Regions from separate parts of the Homo sapiens genome. Here all the other regions are linked to region 6. Evidence: promoter capture Hi-C in 16 types of primary human blood cells and fetal thymus (Javierre and others, 2016). All regions are on one chromosome and are shown on one strand. The core of a region is centred on a gene start or on the middle of the fragment in contact, and the rest is flanking DNA. Distances in the headings are between cores, read along the strand shown.

Region 1 (2,700 bases), core at 192-2,691, 610 kb after region 6:
CAACTTCTACTCCCATGTCCCCCTTCCCCTATACTGGAAAGATTGTACAAATGCTCCTACCTTTCCCGGAGCAGAAGTGTCTCACAGCTAGTATCCCTGCTCTGCCCTTGTTAAATGAGAGGTAAATGATGTGATCATTTTTTTGTGACTGCCTTAAGCAACTCCACCCAGATGGCCTGGCTGTTTGTTTGGTGAAGATTTCTCTCTCCTCTTCTGCCCCCTCTTTCTGACCCATTAGTCAGAAAATAACTGGGCTTTGCAAATGTAGGTTGTGTAAGTTGTCAGGTTCACCAGCCTCCAAATGGCCTGTCCCAAATCCTCTTAACCAGTATTTCCGGAATGAAGTTAAGATCATGCAGGCCATTAGCCAAGGAGTTTAGCTAGAGAGGGTGGGGTGAAGCACAACCCATGCTTTGAAGTATCTGAAACACTCACCAGCCAATGACAATTACTTGTCTCCACTAGGCTGAAGAACATATTTCAGTTGTTCCTATCTCCACTGAAAAACTTGCCTCCTATATATGACATGACTCATAGTCATTAAGTCCAACGTGGAACGCAAAGAGGTTACTGTTTTCCTAACCATTGTATTCGAAGTCTCAGTCAGCTCAACCAACTGCTCCAAGTTGCAGAACATGGCTGAGGTAAACATGGAATTGTGCTGAGAGTTTTGTCTTAAACTCATGCCATCCATCTTCAGTTGGACCCTCGATTCTCTCTTATAATCATTTTTCTTTTCCTTACTAAACTTGATACTCTATGCCCCACAATAGTGTTTCAGAACTTCCTTCCAAAGTTTCAGTTTTCACATCTTTAAAATAAAGATAATCATAGCATCTACTTAGTAAGGCTGTTCTCAGTATTAAATCAAAGGATAGGCGTAAAGTTCAAAACATATGACATAAGTACCTAATACATGCTGTTACTATTATTATATATGTTATTATCTATGCTAATATTATATGACATGAATAATGAAATAACAAAATAATATTTTCTACTCATCTCAAAGTTACGAAACTTTTTTAGTGTCAGCTATATGCTAGTTATCCTGTTAACATGACACTTTGATATACAGCCCCTAAGATCCCAACTCCCTTCCACTCTCTTTCCCTCATCTTATTGGCCTTCTTTCTTACTAAGATCAAGGCAAGTCCATGGAAGCCCCTCAATATTCCCCTGCATCTCAGAATTTCTCCATGTCATCAAAGTTCCTGTTTTTCTTTCCTCTTCTCTCTGAAGGCCATCTCTGCTCCACTCCACAACCCTGGCCCTTCTCACACTAAGTATGGTGCCCCAGGGAGGATTTCCCCTTCAGCCCCACCTAAGAGATCTCAGCATGCAGCCCACAAGGTTTAAAATTGAGTCTTTACTCTTGAAAAGATTAAAACAGAGTTGAGGTGCCAAAAAAAAAAAAAAGAAAAGAAAACCTACAAGATAGCTCATAACAAGTGCCAACTGAGTCATTCAGAAAAAAAAAAAAAAAGAGAAATGCCACTACCTTCAGCAAAAGGGAACCATTGAACTATCATTGAAAAAATACTGTTCCCCAGAGGGAAAAAATTAACTCCAAAAACTTTGTCATCATATTATTAATATTTTAATATCTCATCATTTTTATAAGGCAGTTTCACAAAGTTATTTCCTTTAAGCCACTTAGAGAGGTAGATTAAGGAATATTCTGCCCATTTTACAAATGAAGAAACTGAGATGCAGAGAAGGTTTAGGAGAATTCCCAACCTGGGCAGCTAGTAAGTGCTAGAGCCAGGACTTCAATGTGGGTCTTGGGAGCCCCTTCCCCCTGCCCTTTCTTGTAGGCCATATTGACTTTCTACTGGAGGACATTACCATTTGTTCATTTACCATGATGCTGGAAACTTAGCATTATGTTTTCACATCTGCCCATTACAACTCTAGGTGGTCAGTCTAATTACCTGCATTTTAGATGTAAGGATGACTTTGTGAGGAGGGGGAGCAGAGGGAGGGAGTCTGTTAAGTAAGTAGCCCAAATCCCACTGCTAAAAAGCTCTAAAGTTGGCATATAAATTCAGGGCTCATGAACCTGAATTTTATTTTTTATTTGCAAGAAATTGTATTTCCTACAAATTAAGCATTTTTTTGCCTGTGAGAGCAAAAGATAACACCAAAAAAAAAAAAAAATGAAAGCAAAGTCTAAAACAGGTGGTAGTGACAGCAGAAAAAAAAAATATATATATACACTCATGGTTAGGCAACTTGTCAGCCAAGCCTGGGCCATAAAACACGATAAAAAAAGGTTTGGTTAATAGCCAGAATTACTCAGTTATTCTCATAAATGCTAATTATTAAGTTATTTATGAAAGGAAAAGGATTTTCATTTGATTGTCCCCTGGCTTTTATTGCTCTCTGTGATAACATAAATTCCCCTTCCAGGACCCCTTCAATGATTAAGGTGCATAGCTGTGATCTATAAGCATATTCAGACCTATCACCCATATAGATCAGCTCTGACAAAACGATTTGATGGCTTATGTTTTTTTCAGATAAATTCTATTCTTTGTATTTCATTAGAATGTAGATACCTATAAAAAGTACCTTAAGTAATATGAATCTTGAGATGTTAGAAACATTTCTTCAGAAAAAAAAATACCCACCAAGGAAGTTATAAACCAACTTAAAGAATAGGTGTTCAACAAAATAAATAAACCCAAAAATACTTAA
Region 2 (2,811 bases), core at 145-2,644, 710 kb after region 6:
TTACTCTTTGACCTTTTACAGTAGAAATGTGCCACTCTCTCTGCCTGGGAGGATAAATGCATATATTCACAAAGCAGTATGTTAAAGAATGTTTATAACAGTTTTACACACAATTGCCAAAAACTGAAACCCACCCAAATGTCTGTCAACAGTAGAACAAATAAATCTTGGTATAGTTATACAATGGAATACTATACAATGATGACAAAGAACAAACTATTGCTTTTTTTTTTTTTTTGAGATGGAGTTTCGCTCTTGTTGCCCAGGCTGGAGTGCAGTGGCGCAATCTCAGCTCACTGCAACCTCCATCTCCTCAGTTCAAGCGATCCCAAAGTGCTGTGATTATAGGCGTGAGCCACCATGCCCAGCATTTTTTTTTTTTTTTTTTTGAGATGGAGTCTCACTCTGTCGCCCGGGCTGGAGTGCAGTGGCACAATCTTGGCTCACTGCCACCTCCACCTCCTGGGTTCAAGTGATTCTCCTGCCTCAGCCTCCTGAGTAGCTGGGATTACAGGCACCCGCCACTACACCCATCTAATTTTTTGCATTTTTAGTAGAGATTGGGTTTCACCATGTTGGCCAGGCTGGTCTTGAACTCCTGACCTCATGATTCGCCCTCCTCGGCCTCCGAAAGTGCTGGGATTACAGGTATGAGCCACCATGCCCGGCCAAACTATGGCTATCTACAAAAGTGATATATTTCACAAACATAATGTTATACAAAGAGTACTTACAAAACGATTCCATTTATATAAAGTCTAAAGACCAGTCAAAAATTAACATATGGTGATCCAAATTAGAATATTGGCTACCTTAGGGTGGTTATTGACTGAAAGGAGGCATGAGAGAGAGGCTTCTGGGGTGCTGGCAGTGTTAATCTGGGAGGTAAATAGGGCATGTTTATTTTAAAATCCAACAAACTCTATACTAAAAAGTACGTTATACCTCAAAAGAAATTTAGAAAACTTGTGAAGTATGAGAAATGGTCAGAAGAGATGGTAAAGGAATACAGAAAAATCTATCGTAATGTTGTCAGATGTAATTATTACCACTATATGATTATAGACGTCTCTGATTGGACAGAATAATGTAATAGCATTTTTGTTAGCAAAATTAATGCCACAATTGAATGCTATAACAGAAGTTCACACTAACAAGAGATAAGTCTGTTGCCCTCATAAGGGTTCTTCACTGAACAATATGAAGGACTTAAAGGAGTTGGCAAAATCTTTAGGCTCTGAAGCTGCCAGAAGATTCTGAGGGTAGGCAGATGAGTAGAAAAAAGCTCCAAGGAGACAAGAGAGGGGACCAGATAAGGAGGAGATTCAGTGATTCCACTCAAGCTACTCTTATTGCAGGTGGACTCTGTATGGATTGATGACCGATTTCATGGGAAAAAAAAGGAAGTAGCTTGCCAAAAGTCTCTGGACTCTGTGACCGTGCCTGATTGACCAAAAGTAAGACTATCTTTTTGATAATTGACAGATCAACACACCCTCCTAGATGTTACAGACACAGATCCCATTAACTGAATAAATAAATGAAGAAAATATGCAGAAAGGAAACTGTTAACCTTGGAAGGGAAAGGAGCAGTCTCCATCCACTCTTCTTTCACTTACATCTTTATATTTGTATTCAATCACTTTGTTATTTTTACTTATTTATGTTTATACCGGCTGTTTCCTCTGCCTGGAACCTTATTCGCCTGTGCATCCTCATAGCTACTCCCTATTTCCTTCAAGTCTTAGCTCAGATTTCACTTTCTCAGTCCAGACCTATACAGACTCCCTATCTGAAGTTGCTGCCCACACACTCATATCAATATTACAGGTTTTCCCTGGCCTGCTGTGTTTTTTCCATCGTACGTATCACTTCCTTATACTCTATGCACTGTACTTATTTATTATGGCTATTGTCTGTCTGTCCCGCAATAAATGTGAACTCCACAGGAGCAGAGATTTATTTTACAGATGTAAGTCTGTATCCCTGGCACAAAGTAGGCGTGCAGTAAATATTTGTTTCATGAATAAGTGAATGAAGATGGTAGTCACCATCCTTTCTGGCACTAATATTTAGAATTACTGTGGCCCACAGAGTCTTTCCAAAAAGATTGCAATAATTTGTACTCCCAACTACCAATATATGAGCCTGCTTATTTTCCCATATTCTTATTAGTATTACATATTATCAGTCTTTTTCATTGTGCACTATTTGTTGGGTGCAAATGTACCTCATTGTTTTTTAAATTTCATATGTTTATTAATCATTTGCATGTTCACTTCTAGGAATTGCCTGTTTATGTCATTTGGCCACTTTTATTTTGGATTGTCTTTTGTTTATCTTGAGGGGCTGTTTTATAAATTGCCAATACTTTGTCTATCAGATGTAGTCTAAATACTTTGTTCCACTGTCTTTTAAACATGTGACTTGAAGCATTTAGACATGTTTCTGTTCAAAGAAATGTAAGAATATGAATTTTCCCTTTTATTATTCAGAAGACATAAAAGGTGTTTCTTTATGATGCTTTTTTGCAGTAAAGGACTATTTTCAAGGGTTAAGGCTCCTAATCAAATTGCAGCTGTACTTAGTAGCAAGTTGTGTACAAAATCCTACCTTTCAGGAACAAGGAAAAAGAAAGATAATTGCTAGGCTAGGTTTAAATAATTTGACTTATAGCAGAATTCTTTATAAGTCAGTGATAAGTAACAAAGTTTATTTTTCTTTTTCTTTGGTTTTAGTAAAACAAAAAACCCAATTGGTCCCCAGGGTAATCAAGCCATGATTCTGTGAGCAAAGAATAATGATTTCATA
Region 3 (2,700 bases), core at 114-2,613, 730 kb after region 6:
AAAGAAAAGAAACTGGAGTAGATTTGGAGGGAAGAGAGAGGAAACCTATAAGGAGGTTGCAGTTAGAGAAAAGAACATTTATAACTAAGATCCTAAAGGAAAAATAATCCCCTGGGATCTGCAACTCTTAGATCACCTCAAAATATAAAATATTAAAAATGAGAATGTCATGTCACCTCTAAAGTTCAGTGACATTTGGTGAAAAGAATAGCAGCCAAAACTTTTTAGTCTGGTCACTAGACATAGCTCTGCCAACAACCAGGTAAGAGATTTTAGGCAAGTTCCTCTCTAATCTCTGGGGCTCAGTTTCCTCCTTTGTACTAGAAAGGGGCTTGACTAGTTAACTTCTGAGGGCTTTTATACTTGAATTACTACATCGGTTTATTAGGCTGCCTAGCTGTGTACATCACCAGTCTGCAAACATATTCTTCTTTAAGCACGAGTTTCTTCATGTTACTTCCCGACCCCAAAACACTTTTTGACGCTTTCTCTTGCCTTTGTGCTGCCATCCCCCAAATAGCTGTGACAATCTTGATATTAGAAATAGCCATCTTGTGGGGAAAAACCTCAAGCTTCCCATTTGTTTTCTAGTATTAACTATCAGAAGAATTTACTGGTAATCCACTTAAAGAGATGAAGCCTTATTAAAACCAAAAACAAGTGGCTCATGGGAAAGCTTTTGTGCACTTGAGCATAACTCCTCATTTGTGTCAGCCAAAGGTTGTCCTGACTTATATTGTCATGCATTTTAACCAAATTAAGGTATCACATCATCATTACAAGTTTCACAATTTGTATCCTGGAGTTGTCTTGTTCTTTTTTCTTTTACCAAAAAATCTGAGTTTAAGGAAAAACTTTAACCTGAAAAGTGAGCGGACTCACTTAGCACAATGTCAGCTGACCTACTTGTTTCAGTTTAAATGAAACTAACTTTTGCTCTTAATTCTCCCTTCTTCTTTCCTCTCCCCTACTCTCACCTACTTCCTGGAAAATGTCATTCAGGTCAGAGTTCTTAGATGCAATGTGAGATGGTTTCTGTCTTCCCAACCAGGTGATTTAGCACCTGGGCCTGCATGTTGCTATAGCTGCAATGTTTAGACATGGGTTTGCAAGTGAGTAGAGTCTAAAAACAGAGTTTTGTTGATAATGCATATGCCACAGAATTCTTGAATTGCTTAGTTACCATTGAGCTTGGTTATAAGTAGAAACCACTTATTTAAAAAAGAAAAAAAAAAACCACCATTTGCAAATGAGATCTACTGAAAGGCAAATAAAGCCTTGTTTAAAAGTGTGGCTATTATCAGTAATAGCAATTATGATGATTTATGCTGCTTGGTACATTTCCACATAGGCTTTATATGCATTTTTAATAATAATTCTCAAAACCATGGAGGAGGGGGACAGGCATTCATTCATTCACTCGTTCATTCAATCAACTGTCCTAGCTTGTGAGAAGGACAAACGGCCAGACCGCTTTTTGAGACAATGAACAGGTAGTTAGAGAAAAGGTCGGGTATTTGCAGGGCTGATTGCATCCTGGGACTCAGAAGGTCCAGAAGTGATACACCAGGAGCTCAAGAATTGCAACCATAATTTATGCAAATGATTCACACTAGAGTTAATAGTACAAGTTACAGAAACCCGACAGCTGGACAGGAAGAGGCTATTTTAGATTCAAGCCAACAGGTGGGCATCACCTGGGATTCATCATTGCAATCTTGCTAGAGCAGCATATTCCCACCTTGTCAAGAAGAAGGACCCACGTTTAACATCAAAATGTCTTGGGGACTCCCCACACGCTAATTGTCATCTTCTTTATATCTGTTAATTGAGAAATATATAACAATAAAAATCTGTTCATTAAAAATATATAACGATAAAAATCAACTAGGAATCAGCAGAGATTTAACATGAATTTATATTTCACTAATTCTACCAGTGCTATGCCAGTTTTCAATTTATTACCTCTTTGTTCCAGATTTCTTCAGCAGCTGCTCTACAAATATGCAATGGACCCTTTAAGCATTTCTCCTTTACAGTGAGCACAATGCTAAGCTTTGTCAGCAGATGCCACTGGAGCAGCATTGCAGAAGAAAGCGAGTTTCTCTTCCTGATTTTGGTGTGCTACTTTTCTTCTTCTTGCTCCAGCTGCATTATCCATCAGTGGTACTATGTATAAGACCATCCCGCTGTGCCCTGCCCTACCACCTGCCCAGAGGCACATCCCTCACTGACTATTTGGCCTGATTCTGAGCCTGTGGCCACCTTCTCACAGCCCTGCAACACAGGCACTGTGTGCTCCAGGCCTCACGTCCCCAGCAGTGGCCTGACTGTGCACTTAGCCACAGCCTCAGTTTGCCTGTGCTCCAAGAAATTGCATCCTATTTGCCCAGCAGCTATGGACCAGCTCCTGGTCCTGGAAAACAGCAGGCTTCTCTGACATCTAGTGGACTGCAAACACACCTTCTCCAACAAGGCCTGACCCCAGCCTTAAGGAGAGAACCGTCTTTCCGAGTTGTCTTTCCTTGGGTACTCTCCCTCAATCCTCGGATACCCTTGAAAGTTCTCTTTACATTGTTATAGTTATTCTTCTATCACTGTCGAATAATTTTTTATATTAAACTTCTCTTGCTTTACATTACTATGTGGTTTCTGTCTCTTGCTTGAACTCAGACTGATAGAAGTTCATTTGGAAAAACA
Region 4 (2,700 bases), core at 110-2,609, 690 kb after region 6:
TTGTTAGTAATCAAGCCTGATGTGATGGACAAAATACACATTATGTGTAAATGTCCCATGCAAAATGTGAGAAAGTTTAGATGATGTACAGCAGTTATTTTTAGTCCTTCGAATAAAACATACTCCTCACATACATACTCCTCACATTCGAGAGCAATATTATAAATAATGCAGCATTCATTTAATATAACCTCAGTATGTTTCATTTCAAAAGACCAACTGTAATTTCTATTTCTGTTTATTTTTAAAGAACTCTTCACTACTGTAATATTATATTTTAATAATAATAACAATGACCTGTATATATTACATACTTAATATATGACAGTCCATAAGCTAGGGTTTATAAAAATATATATGATCAAATTTCATCCTAACAATACATTATGTGTTAAGTATTATCCCCATTTGACAAACAAGAAAACTGGGTCTCAGAAATGTGCACAGTCATGTTTAAAAATCCTAACTCTCTATCTCAAAAACCCATCCTATGGTGTCTCTAAGAGAAATGTGTAGACTGCTCAAACTGGTTCTAATAAAGTTTTCCCTCATTTTGAATGTTTCTGTTCAGTAACGAAAAACTGTAAATAAATAATACAAAAAGCATATTTATAACCTAAGTATAAGGCCTAAGAATAATAATAAAATGGATACTTGCATACCCACCACTGAGCTTAAGAAATCAGACATTAGCAACACCTTTGAAGCCTTGTGTACCTTTCTCCCAATCTATTCATCTTCCCCAATCCAGAGACATGGTTTAGTGCATGTGAGTGAGCCACCTCCCCAGTTAGAAAGTAGGCTTCTTGAGAAAAAAACTGGGTTTATTATTTCTTCATTTTTCTTTTTAGTTTTACCACATAGGCATTTATCCCTAAACACTGTACTATTTGATTTTGCTTGGCTTTGAACTTTATATAATTATTCTTTTGTAACTTGCTCTTTTAATTCAGTACCACCTACGTTGATGACTATAGTGTATAGTTCTTAATCTTCACTGCTATACAGTAGTCAACTGTATGACTATACCACACTTATTTACCTATTATCTCATTTGCCTGGATCTGTGTCGCTTCAGGTTTTTGCTGTTACAAATCAAATAGATATTCTTGTCCAAGTCTCCTGGTACACACATGCTAAAATTTCTTTTGGGTATATATCCAGGAATAAAATGCAGATTGAAGGGTGTGTGAAGTTCAGTCTTACATAACCGTGTCAATTACTTTTTTTATATTTTGAAAAAAAATTTTCCCATCGTTTTTCTACTGTTCTGTTTGCTGCTCATTTTCTTACTAATTTGTGGGCTGCCTTTATATATTTTTATTACTCTTTTTGTTGGCATACATGTTGCAAATATCTTCTCCAAATTTTCAGCTGACTTCTCAGAGAAAGTCTTAAGTTTAAACATTGTCAAATTTTAATTTTTTTCCTTTATGAGTAAAAACCTTATTTAAGAAATCTTTTTATTTCCAGAGGTGTTATTCATCTGAAATGTTTTGTTTTGGTTTACATATTTAAATGTTTAATGTCTCTGAAATTGATTTAGGGATATGGTAAGAATAGGCAGGAATCTGATTTTATTTTTTCCATGAATTCAGGGGAGCCACAGTCTGAAACCAGACCACGTGGGCTCTATAGTTAAAATATTACAATCTTCTCCATAACATTCTTGCTCCTCTCTTGAAAAAGGTTTTTCTATGTATCTTATGTTTTTAACTGCTTTTGTGACTATTGTCTTTTTTTTTTCAATTTGGTTTCCTTTTCTAACTTGTTTGCTTTTGTGACTGCTGCCTTTAAAAAATATATTTTTTGGTTTCTTTTTCTTTCCTTTTTTTTTTTAAAGAGATAGGGTCTCGCCATATTGATCAGGTCAAACCTCTGAACTCAAGCCATCCTTCTGCCTCAGCCTCCCAAGTAGCTGAGATTATAGGCTGGTTTCTTTTTTTAACTTGTTTGCTGTTATATAAAAATGCAATTGACTTTTATATAAATATTTGTGTTTTAATATCTATGGATTCTTTTGGGTTCTTCATAAACACAATTATATCATCTGATGGGTGACTGTCAAGATGTGTGTGTGTGTGTGTGTGTGTGTGTTGAAAGATACATTAAAGACCCAAACAGTGTTCATTATTGTTATTTTACCACTTAAAAATCAATTTTATTTTATATATTTATTTCATTTCTCTGTCAATATATATAAATTTTGATCTGTTTTCTCATTTAAGTAATATTTATTTGTTCAGAAAACTTAGAGAATAGACATAAGAAAATCAAAATGCCCATAATCCCATCACACAATTAATTAGAATTCAATAACATAGTTTTAAATTACTTACCATGTGATCTAAATGCACTACTTATTTCCTATTTTCAAAGATTTTGCTTTCTGGTGAATAACTACTGTAAATGTTTTGATATTATACTCATTTAGGCTTTTTAAAATAATAAATACATATTTTTAACACAAACAGGTCATATTGTACATGCAGTTATGCAACCTAATATTTTTCACAAACGATATATGTAACCATTTCTTTGACATTACTGAAAATTCTTCTGCCACATTATTTTTGATGAATGCATTGTATATTTCATTGTATGTATTATAATTAATTAGTTTTATTGCATATGTGCTGCATTCAATATTTTGCTATTATAAATAGTTATGACTTTCTATCATCCTATGATGATTCCCTC
Region 5 (2,706 bases), core at 136-2,635, 660 kb after region 6:
AACCAGAGGATGGGCCCTGGGGCCCACCGGGGTGAGCCTGCCCCCGAAGACCCCCCCAAGCAGCGTTGCCGGGCCCCCGCCTGTGATCATTTTGGCAATGCCAAGTGCAACGGCTACTGCAACGAATGCTTTCAGTTCAAGCAGATGTATGGCTAACCGGAAACAGGTGGGTCACCTCCTGCAAGAAGTGGGGCCTCGAGCTGTCAGTCATCATGGTGCTATCCTCTGAACCCCTCAGCTGCCACTGCAACAGTGGGCTTAAGGGTGTCTGAGCAGGAGAGGAAAGATAAGCTCTTCGTGGTGCCCACGATGCTCAGGTTTGGTAACCCGGGAGTGTTCCCAGGTGGCCTTAGAAAGCAAAGCTTGTAACTGGCAAGGGATGATGTCAGATTCAGCCCAAGGTTCCTCCTCTCCTACCAAGCAGGAGGCCAGGAACTTCTTTGGACTTGGAAGGTGTGCGGGGACTGGCCGAGGCCCCTGCACCCTGCGCATCAGGACTGCTTCATCGTCTTGGCTGAGAAAGGGAAAAGACACACAAGTCGCGTGGGTTGGAGAAGCCAGAGCCATTCCACCTCCCCTCCCCCAGCATCTCTCAGAGATGTGAAGCCAGATCCTCATGGCAGCGAGGCCCTCTGCAAGAAGCTCAAGGAAGCTCAGGGAAAATGGACGTATTCAGAGAGTGTTTGTAGTTCATGGTTTTTCCCTACCTGCCCGGTTCCTTTCCTGAGGACCCGGCAGAAATGCAGAACCATCCATGGACTGTGATTCTGAGGCTGCTGAGACTGAACATGTTCACATTGACAGAAAAACAAGCTGCTCTTTATAATATGCACCTTTTAAAAAATTAGAATATTTTACTGGGAAGACGTGTAACTCTTTGGGTTATTACTGTCTTTACTTCTAAAGAAGTTAGCTTGAACTGAGGAGTAAAAGTGTGTACATATATAATATACCCTTACATTATGTATGAGGGATTTTTTTAAATTATATTGAAATGCTGCCCTAGAAGTACAATAGGAAGGCTAAATAATAATAACCTGTTTTCTGGTTGTTGTTGGGGCATGAGCTTGTGTATACACTGCTTGCATAAACTCAACCAGCTGCCTTTTTAAAGGGAGCTCTAGTCCTTTTTGTGTAATTCACTTTATTTATTTTATTACAAACTTCAAGATTATTTAAGTGAAGATATTTCTTCAGCTCTGGGGAAAATGCCACAGTGTTCTCCTGAGAGAACATCCTTGCTTTGAGTCAGGCTGTGGGCAAGTTCCTGACCACAGGGAGTAAATTGGCCTCTTTGATACACTTTTGCTTGCCTCCCCAGGAAAGAAGGAATTGCATCCAAGGTATACATACATATTCATCGATGTTTCGTGCTTCTCCTTATGAAACTCCAGCTATGTAATAAAAAACTATACTCTGTGTTCTGTTAATGCCTCTGAGTGTCCTACCTCCTTGGAGATGAGATAGGGAAGGAGCAGGGATGAGACTGGCAATGGTCACAGGGAAAGATGTGGCCTTTTGTGATGGTTTTATTTTCTGTTAACACTGTGTCCTGGGGGGGCTGGGAAGTCCCCTGCATCCCATGGTACCCTGGTATTGGGACAGCAAAAGCCAGTAACCATGAGTATGAGGAAATCTCTTTCTGTTGCTGGCTTACAGTTTCTCTGTGTGCTTTGTGGTTGCTGTCATATTTGCTCTAGAAGAAAAAAAAAAAAGGAGGGGAAATGCATTTTCCCCAGAGATAAAGGCTGCCATTTTGGGGGTCTGTACTTATGGCCTGAAAATATTTGTGATCCATAACTCTACACAGCCTTTACTCATACTATTAGGCACACTTTCCCCTTAGAGCCCCCTAAGTTTTTCCCAGACGAATCTTTATAATTTCTTTCCAAAGATACCAAATAAACTTCAGTGTTTTCATCTAATTCTCTTAAAGTTGATATCTTAATATTTTGTGTTGATCATTATTTCCATTCTTAATGTGAAAAAAAGTAATTATTTATACTTATTATAAAAAGTATTTGAAATTTGCACATTTAATTGTCCCTAATAGAAAGCCACCTATTCTTTGTTGGATTTCTTCAAGTTTTTCTAAATAAATGTAACTTTTCACAAGAGTCAACATTAAAAAATAAATTATTTAAGAACAGATTGTGATGTTTTCAATTGATGAATGCTGAAAGAAAAAGAAAGGCTTGGATATTAAGACTGTGCTTCCTAAGCAGCTTTATTTTGAGGTGCACCTGAGCAATGCACACATCTCTCATCCATGGTAGCAAGGCAGCTTTTCATAAATAATAACTGTATGAGGTCCAGGCCCAGTCCTCAAGCACAAGCCCCCGCTTGACAATGAAGACACTCTTCCTCTGATGGGAAGAGGAAAGGGATGCTAGGACCCTGTGGCCCTTTTAAGCTTCCTGCCCTAAACTTTTATAAAGTGAAGAAAGAGAAAACAAGAGGGAGGAGGAGGGAAAGACAGGAAAGAGAGAAGTAGGCAGGCAGGAAGGAAGACTGATGTAAGATCTCCTGGGTCAGACAAAGCAGAGGAGGCAGCGTGGCTGTGCTGGCTGCCAGAACCAGGAAATTAAAAAATAACACATTCCTCCATGCGCAAGCCTTCATCCCCACCTCCCATCCAGTACAAATGGACTCACAGACGACTGATTCAGCAGGACTGCGCAGCTCCCAGAATCTACTTTTTTAAGC
Region 6 (2,700 bases), core at 186-2,685:
GTCTTCACTGACTTCCCTAAAAGAGACAAGCACCCCGCCTTGCTTTCCACTAGTCTGTGCCTAAGTGCAAGCTCTTACCGCAAAGTACTGCAACTGCCCATGTGGATGACTGACTAGAGCCTAGAAGAGCAGTTAAGAACTTGGACTCTGGAGCCAAATTGAGCAGCTCCCCACTGAGTGGCTATGACCTCTCTGCCAGTTGGGCAGGCCTCTCCGTAACTCAATTTCTCGTCCATAAAGAGAGAGACAAATAACGCCTACTCCAGAAGATTGTTGTGAACACAGAACCAAAACGTGGACCTTTCAAAGTCCCTATGAATCATAAATCATAATAAAAAAAAGAAAACTGAATTGAAAAGGTTTACTGTTTTCTCTGGAGCTCGTAATCACAATTACTCTGCACTTCAGAAAAGCCACCCTCAACATTTGTTTTCTAGGAAATGTCAATAAGCAGGTGGAAATAAAATGCTCCGAAGAACAAACCCGTACGAAGAGACCTACTGCCAAATCTGCTAGTGAGTGCCGGCAATCCACCACTTCCAGACTGAGACCTAAGACGGACTGCCACTTACTTCTCAGCTGCCACTTACTTCTCAGCTGGCGACATAATGCATACTTTCCTACCCTAAGCACTTTGAGTCCCCCCCCCCACCCCCGCTAAGAAAGAAGTATTTAAGCCACGAACTGAGACCACGATGCCACATGCTGATCAGGACACTCACAGTCATGCGTCACTTAACGATGGAGATCCGTTCTGAGAAATGGAGAAATGTCCCCTTAGGCAATTTCTTCGGGCAGTAGAAACCCAGACAAACCCAGATGACACAGCCTACTGCTCTTAGGTCATGAACCTGTACAGCCTGTCACTGCACTGAACACTGCAGGCAACCGTAGCATACTAGTGAGTATCTGCGTATCTAACCATAAAAAAAGGTACAGTAAGAAGACGATATTATAATCTTTGAGACCACGCTGTCCCACATTGACCAGCAACGTCCTTCTGCAGCGCATAATCGTATTTAAAAGTGGATTACAAGAGTCGGAAAAACAAGCGGCGTGATTTGTTGTGGCGGCAACCAGGGAAGAGGCAGGAGAAAGGCAACCGACGAGTTCAAACCACGGAGCCCCAGTCTCGCGACCCCACCTCGCGTCCCCGTCGCCCGCTCAGGGCCCGACGCAGGGGTCCCGGGCTAGGGCGACCTCGGAGAAGCGGGGCGGGGCTTCCCGGCTGGGGCGGATCCCTCCCTCCCTCTCGTCCCGACCCGGCCGCAGCCCTGCCGCGAACGACGGTACCTGAGGACGGCCCCAGATCCGCGGTGCCCATCTCAGCCCTGCTCACACCCTGCATGACAAGGGGTAGGAGAAAGAGGAGAGCCATGCTGCTACCGACGGTCGCTGGCTCCAACCCCGAGCGCCTGCGGGACCAGCCCAGCACTGCCCTCCAGCCCCGGCCTTACGTCACTTCCGTCACCGGGGTCTGTGCCGGCGTCGGCAGGAGGCGGGACCAGGGCGTGGGCGGGGTCAAGTCCGGGAAGCCGCAGGAGGCGGACTCAGGCGCAGCACCCAGCAGTGAGCACGGCGTCGTGCGGTCGGGACCTGGACTTCTGGGTGTGGGAGGAATTTGAGTGCAAAGGTTAAGGTCTTTCAACCTGGCACCCCATTCTGCAATTCTTCTTCCAGTTTTTTTCGGTTTCCTGGGGTTGTGCAAGTTTGCATTAGGCCACAGCCGAGCCACAATCCTTATTTTACTAACTCTTGGACTTCACCTGGTTGTCTTGGAGCCTGACATTTTTAGAAGAGAATGAGACTTCAAAAGCCATTTCCAGTCCCTGCTTTTTCATTTGAGGAACCTGAGACTTAGCTAGTGAAATGGTTTGTGCAGATTCCCACAGCCCAAATCAAATCGGCTTGACCAAGAACTACTTTGTTCTTGGAGAAAAAAACTATTTGCATTACCTTCTCAGCAATTCAGTGTCAAATCAGTTTATCAGGCAGCCTCTCATGAAGAGGTCTGCTCTCTTACCTCTCTGGGTTTGTCTGTTATTTTGCATCTCTCCTATTCCACTGCAGCCACATTGCTAAGTCCTTCAGCGCTTGTGCTCAAACATGCGAATGTCTAATGATCTCACCTGTTTCAATTCTCTGAGTATCATGAACTTTTGTTAAAAATTTTAAATTGCAACACACCTTCTCCTCCTCCTTACCCCGCCCTACTGTTTTTTCATGGCACTTTTCACCTTGCTGTACACTATAATATACACCTTGATATTTGTTTTCTTCTCCTTCTAAAATGTAAGCTCCGTAGAGCTGACATCTTTACTTGGCACTCAATTAGTATTTGTTGAGTGAAAGACTGCATGATTACTAGTGTTAAGGAAAATTTTTAAAGAGGGAAAATCCTTATAAAGACACTATATAAACTAGAGGTATTATCAGCCAGATCATTTTACTTGTATTAATAAATCTCTTAGCTCAGTACTTCTCAAACTTCAACATACATGTGAACCATCTGGGGATCTTGATAAAATGCAGATTTGGATTCAGTAGTTCTAATTCAGGTTGGGTCTTGAGATTTTGTATTTCGGACAAAATGCACAGGGGATGCTGGTGCCCCTTTCAACAGGACCACACTTTGAATCAGAAGAATTTAGCTCAATCTAGACTAAGTTTAGGGAGAATATTTCCTTTGATGTGTTTCTG
Region 7 (2,878 bases), core at 313-2,812, 640 kb after region 6:
TGTACCTTAAAGACATTTAAAAAAAAAAATAGGTATTGGCCAGGCACATTGACTCACACCTATAATTCCAGCACTTCAGGAGGCCGAGGAAAGAGGATTACTTGAGGCCAGGAGCTCAAGACCAGCTTGGGCAACAAAGCAAGACCCCAACTCTATAATAAATTATAAATTAGCTGAGTGTGGTGGCGCAAGCCTGTAGTCCCAGCTACTCAGGAGGCTGAAGCAGAAGGGTCGGTGAAGGCCACAGTGTGCCATGATCACACCACCATACTCCAGCCTGGGTGACAGAGTGAGACCTTGTCTCTAAAAAAATAATAAAACTTTTAAGAATTTGAAAATTAAAAAAAACAGGTATCAGCTCAGACAAACAGAAGCTTTAAGGCTTAGAGTAAATGATCATTAGTTTAGAAGGTTATTAATGTTCTGTTGTGAATTTTTTATTTAAATTATCCAATTTAGCACTAGAAAGACACTTTGAAAATAGCAGCATCCAGAGTTCCGCATTGTTCGTTCAGTTATCACAAAGTAAACAGCTGTAGCAAGGGAATAAGACATAGCAGGCTGTGCAGTTCTGAACAATTATTGCTAAAATGCCTAAGGCCAAGAATTTTTCAGCCACCCAAGAAGTATAATAATTTTCTCGAAGTTCAAAGCCAGAGATGTATATATGAATTAAGTTCTTACATAAAAAATCTTTTGCAAAAATCTCAAATCCCATACTTGCTCAAGTTAGGATGTTTGACACCATTGAGAACCAACCAAACAATGACTGTTTGGTTCAACCAGAGAACCTAAGAACCAACCATGAAAGCCTCAAGAATCAAGGCATTTCTTACAGGTTTATTTCACACCTGAATTGTAACAAGTTGAGTGTTCCCAGAGGTACTTCTTAAGGTATCATAAAAGTAACTTATTTCAAGAGAAAATTACATTTCATTGTAGAGATGAAGTATAATGCTTCTCTAGTTGTTTTCTGCAGAGAGCTGAACATGTCTCAAGATAGATTTGGTAGATTTATTTCAAATATGAAAAATTCAGGAACCCCTCCCCAACCCTCTCCTACTCCCTGGAAAGCATATACTAAAAATATGGCAATTCCAACTTTTTCTCCTGAATGCCTAAATGCTCTCTAATAAAAACTAGAAATCAACAAGGCTAAATTCTAGGGATTTTATGAGAACAGAACCAGTTAAGAAAAATTAAAACATTTTTCCCATTAATATAAAACAAAAGATGAACACTTTTGCATGTAAGTTCATTTACAAATAAATTTTTAAAAATTAAAGTGCATGAAAAAACATTTTAAAACTTCCAGACATTAATATGGGAAAACAGCCAACTTGCTGTAAACAAAAGAATAATAAATATTCTAAACAAAAATAAAATTCTAAGCCCCCGAACCACTGAATGGACCCCCAACTCTCAGCCGAGGGGATTTCAAAGAAACCTAAAATACTAGTTCAGGCCATGATGGGAAGGGAGGGTCGGACATGCTTCATTATACTCTCCTCTCTTTGGAATTCAGGCACAACTGACCAGCATTAACATTAAAACAGAGATCTTAAGACTGACAAAACAGACTTTTTGTAGCAATAAGATAGCAATGTGACAGGAGGCCCTGAAAGAAATCCAAGTATTTTACTTCAAAATATATTTATTTGATACATTTTGAAATGACCTGGCAAAGCTGTCTGTTGTGAGGAAACTCTCCATTCCGTAGATAATTCTCTCTCCTTTCCAGGTCTTTTCCTGATCCAGGAGATATTCAACTGAGTCTGGCACCGTTTAAGGTCTGATAGGAGATATTTACCACCTATTACTCTTTCTGAAGGCTGCTACCAGAAGGCTTCATCTTCATAACAAGAACCTTGGCCTCCACAACCCTCCTTATCTTAACCCTAAGCATTTCTGTCTTAACTCCTTAGAAAGAAACTTAACTGTTTCAACCAACTGCCAATCAGAACACCTTTGAATTCAACTATCAGCTGTAAGCCCAACACCCTCCTTGAAGTTGTCCTACCTTTCTGGACCAAATGAACATATACGTTACATACACTGATTGATGTCTGCCTATAAATTCTGTCCCCCTAAACTGTGTAAAATCAAGCTGTAACCCAACCACTGTGTTTGGATACATGTTCTCAGGACCTCCTGAGGCTATGTCATGGGTCATGGTCCTCACATTTGGCTCAGAATAAATGTCTTTAAATATTTTACAGAGATTGGCTTTTTTTTCTTTTTTCTTTTTTTTTTTTTTTTTGTTTGTCAACAGCATAGAAACATCCATACTAAACATACCTGGCAGAAGGTCAGTGCATCTCTCCCTTGCTGATGGTTATTCATTCAAACATGAAAGGAGAAAATAACTGGTTTAGTCTTTCTCAGGAACACACACTCTTTTTTTAGAGTCAGACTATTTTCTTCTTCAATGAGTTAAGTTTTACTAGAGACACTTAGTAGTATATTTGGAAACTTAAAATGTAATAGTAGTACCTCTTCTTTTCTGATCTTCTGTTTATTCCCTTACCTACCTAAAAAGATCAATCACTTACTAGGATTAACCCAACACTTAGGCTCAATCAACTGCATGAACGTGTTTGGACTCTCAAAATACTATATTTCCTCAATTTTACAACATACTTTTTTTAAACATTTAAAAATTTCTAATATAATCATTAGTTTAAATTTTTACGTAAAAAGCCTCAAATGCCAGGGAGTGAAGAGAGGTGGTTCTCATTGCCTGTGCATTTGCAAGCTTAGAAATGTCTAAAGGAAAGGTATCTTTTCATTCTTCCTCCCAATCCTTTCATTCATCTAACAAACTGTTGTTCACTGAGTGCCTGTTTTGTATCACGTACATTTCTGGGCACAGGGAGTA

What was found. The method cuts DNA at HindIII sites, captures the fragments that hold promoters and counts their contacts. A CHiCAGO score of 5 or more calls a contact.
Region 1: a fragment that was not itself captured here is called in contact with the fragment with the promoter of IFNGR1 in region 6 in 1 of 17 cell types (monocytes); the score reaches 8.4 in monocytes.
Region 2: a fragment that was not itself captured here is called in contact with the fragment with the promoter of IFNGR1 in region 6 in 3 of 17 cell types (monocytes, total B cells and M2 macrophages); the score reaches 8.9 in monocytes.
Region 3: a contact is called between a fragment that was not itself captured here and the fragment with the promoter of IFNGR1 in region 6, in 4 of 17 cell types (neutrophils, fetal thymus, monocytes and 1 more). The highest score is 7.2, in neutrophils.
Region 4: a fragment that was not itself captured here is called in contact with the fragment with the promoter of IFNGR1 in region 6 in 1 of 17 cell types (monocytes); the score reaches 5.8 in monocytes.
Region 5: a contact is called between a fragment that was not itself captured here and the fragment with the promoter of IFNGR1 in region 6, in 1 of 17 cell types (monocytes). The highest score is 6.9, in monocytes.
Region 7: a contact is called between a fragment that was not itself captured here and the fragment with the promoter of IFNGR1 in region 6, in 2 of 17 cell types (monocytes and fetal thymus). The highest score is 5.5, in monocytes.

Annotation. Positions count from the first base shown.
Region 1 is chr6:137,829,380-137,832,079 of GRCh38, forward strand. The region is part of intron 3 of WAKMAR2 (wound and keratinocyte migration associated lncRNA 2); the gene reads right to left. Among named protein-coding and RNA genes, the nearest start is that of TNFAIP3, 37 kb to the right of the region's middle. The HindIII fragment of the contact is 4,045 bases long and covers 1-2,700 here.
Region 2 is chr6:137,930,239-137,933,049 of GRCh38, forward strand. No RefSeq gene overlaps it. Among named protein-coding and RNA genes, the nearest start is that of LINC02865, 14 kb to the right of the region's middle. The HindIII fragment of the contact is 3,982 bases long and covers 1-2,811 here.
Region 3 is chr6:137,949,163-137,951,862 of GRCh38, forward strand. LINC02865 (long intergenic non-protein coding RNA 2865) reads left to right here. Exons shown (of 2, transcript NR_174953.1): 2 at 1,979-2,641. Among named protein-coding and RNA genes, the nearest start is that of SIMALR, 4.7 kb to the left of the region's middle. The HindIII fragment of the contact is 1,379 bases long and covers 675-2,053 here.
Region 4 is chr6:137,905,666-137,908,365 of GRCh38, forward strand. No RefSeq gene overlaps it. Among named protein-coding and RNA genes, the nearest start is that of LINC02865, 38 kb to the right of the region's middle. The HindIII fragment of the contact is 10,000 bases long and covers 1-2,700 here.
Region 5 is chr6:137,881,164-137,883,869 of GRCh38, forward strand. TNFAIP3 (TNF alpha induced protein 3) reads left to right here. Exons shown (of 9, transcript NM_001270508.2): 9 at 1-2,149. The coding sequence ends at 156. Among named protein-coding and RNA genes, the nearest start is that of WAKMAR2, 14 kb to the left of the region's middle. The HindIII fragment of the contact is 2,051 bases long and covers 361-2,411 here.
Region 6 is chr6:137,217,950-137,220,649 of GRCh38, forward strand. It overlaps IFNGR1 (interferon gamma receptor 1), which reads right to left and starts at 1,436. Exons shown (of 7, transcript NM_000416.3): 1 at 1,294-1,436. The coding sequence starts at 1,378. RefSeq lists silencers at 617-666, 1,127-1,346, 1,387-1,616 and enhancers at 1,076-1,806, 1,657-1,906. The HindIII fragment of the contact is 10,215 bases long and covers 1-2,700 here.
Region 7 is chr6:137,858,684-137,861,561 of GRCh38, forward strand. The region is part of intron 3 of WAKMAR2 (wound and keratinocyte migration associated lncRNA 2); the gene reads right to left. Among named protein-coding and RNA genes, the nearest start is that of TNFAIP3, 7.1 kb to the right of the region's middle. The HindIII fragment of the contact is 2,381 bases long and covers 373-2,753 here.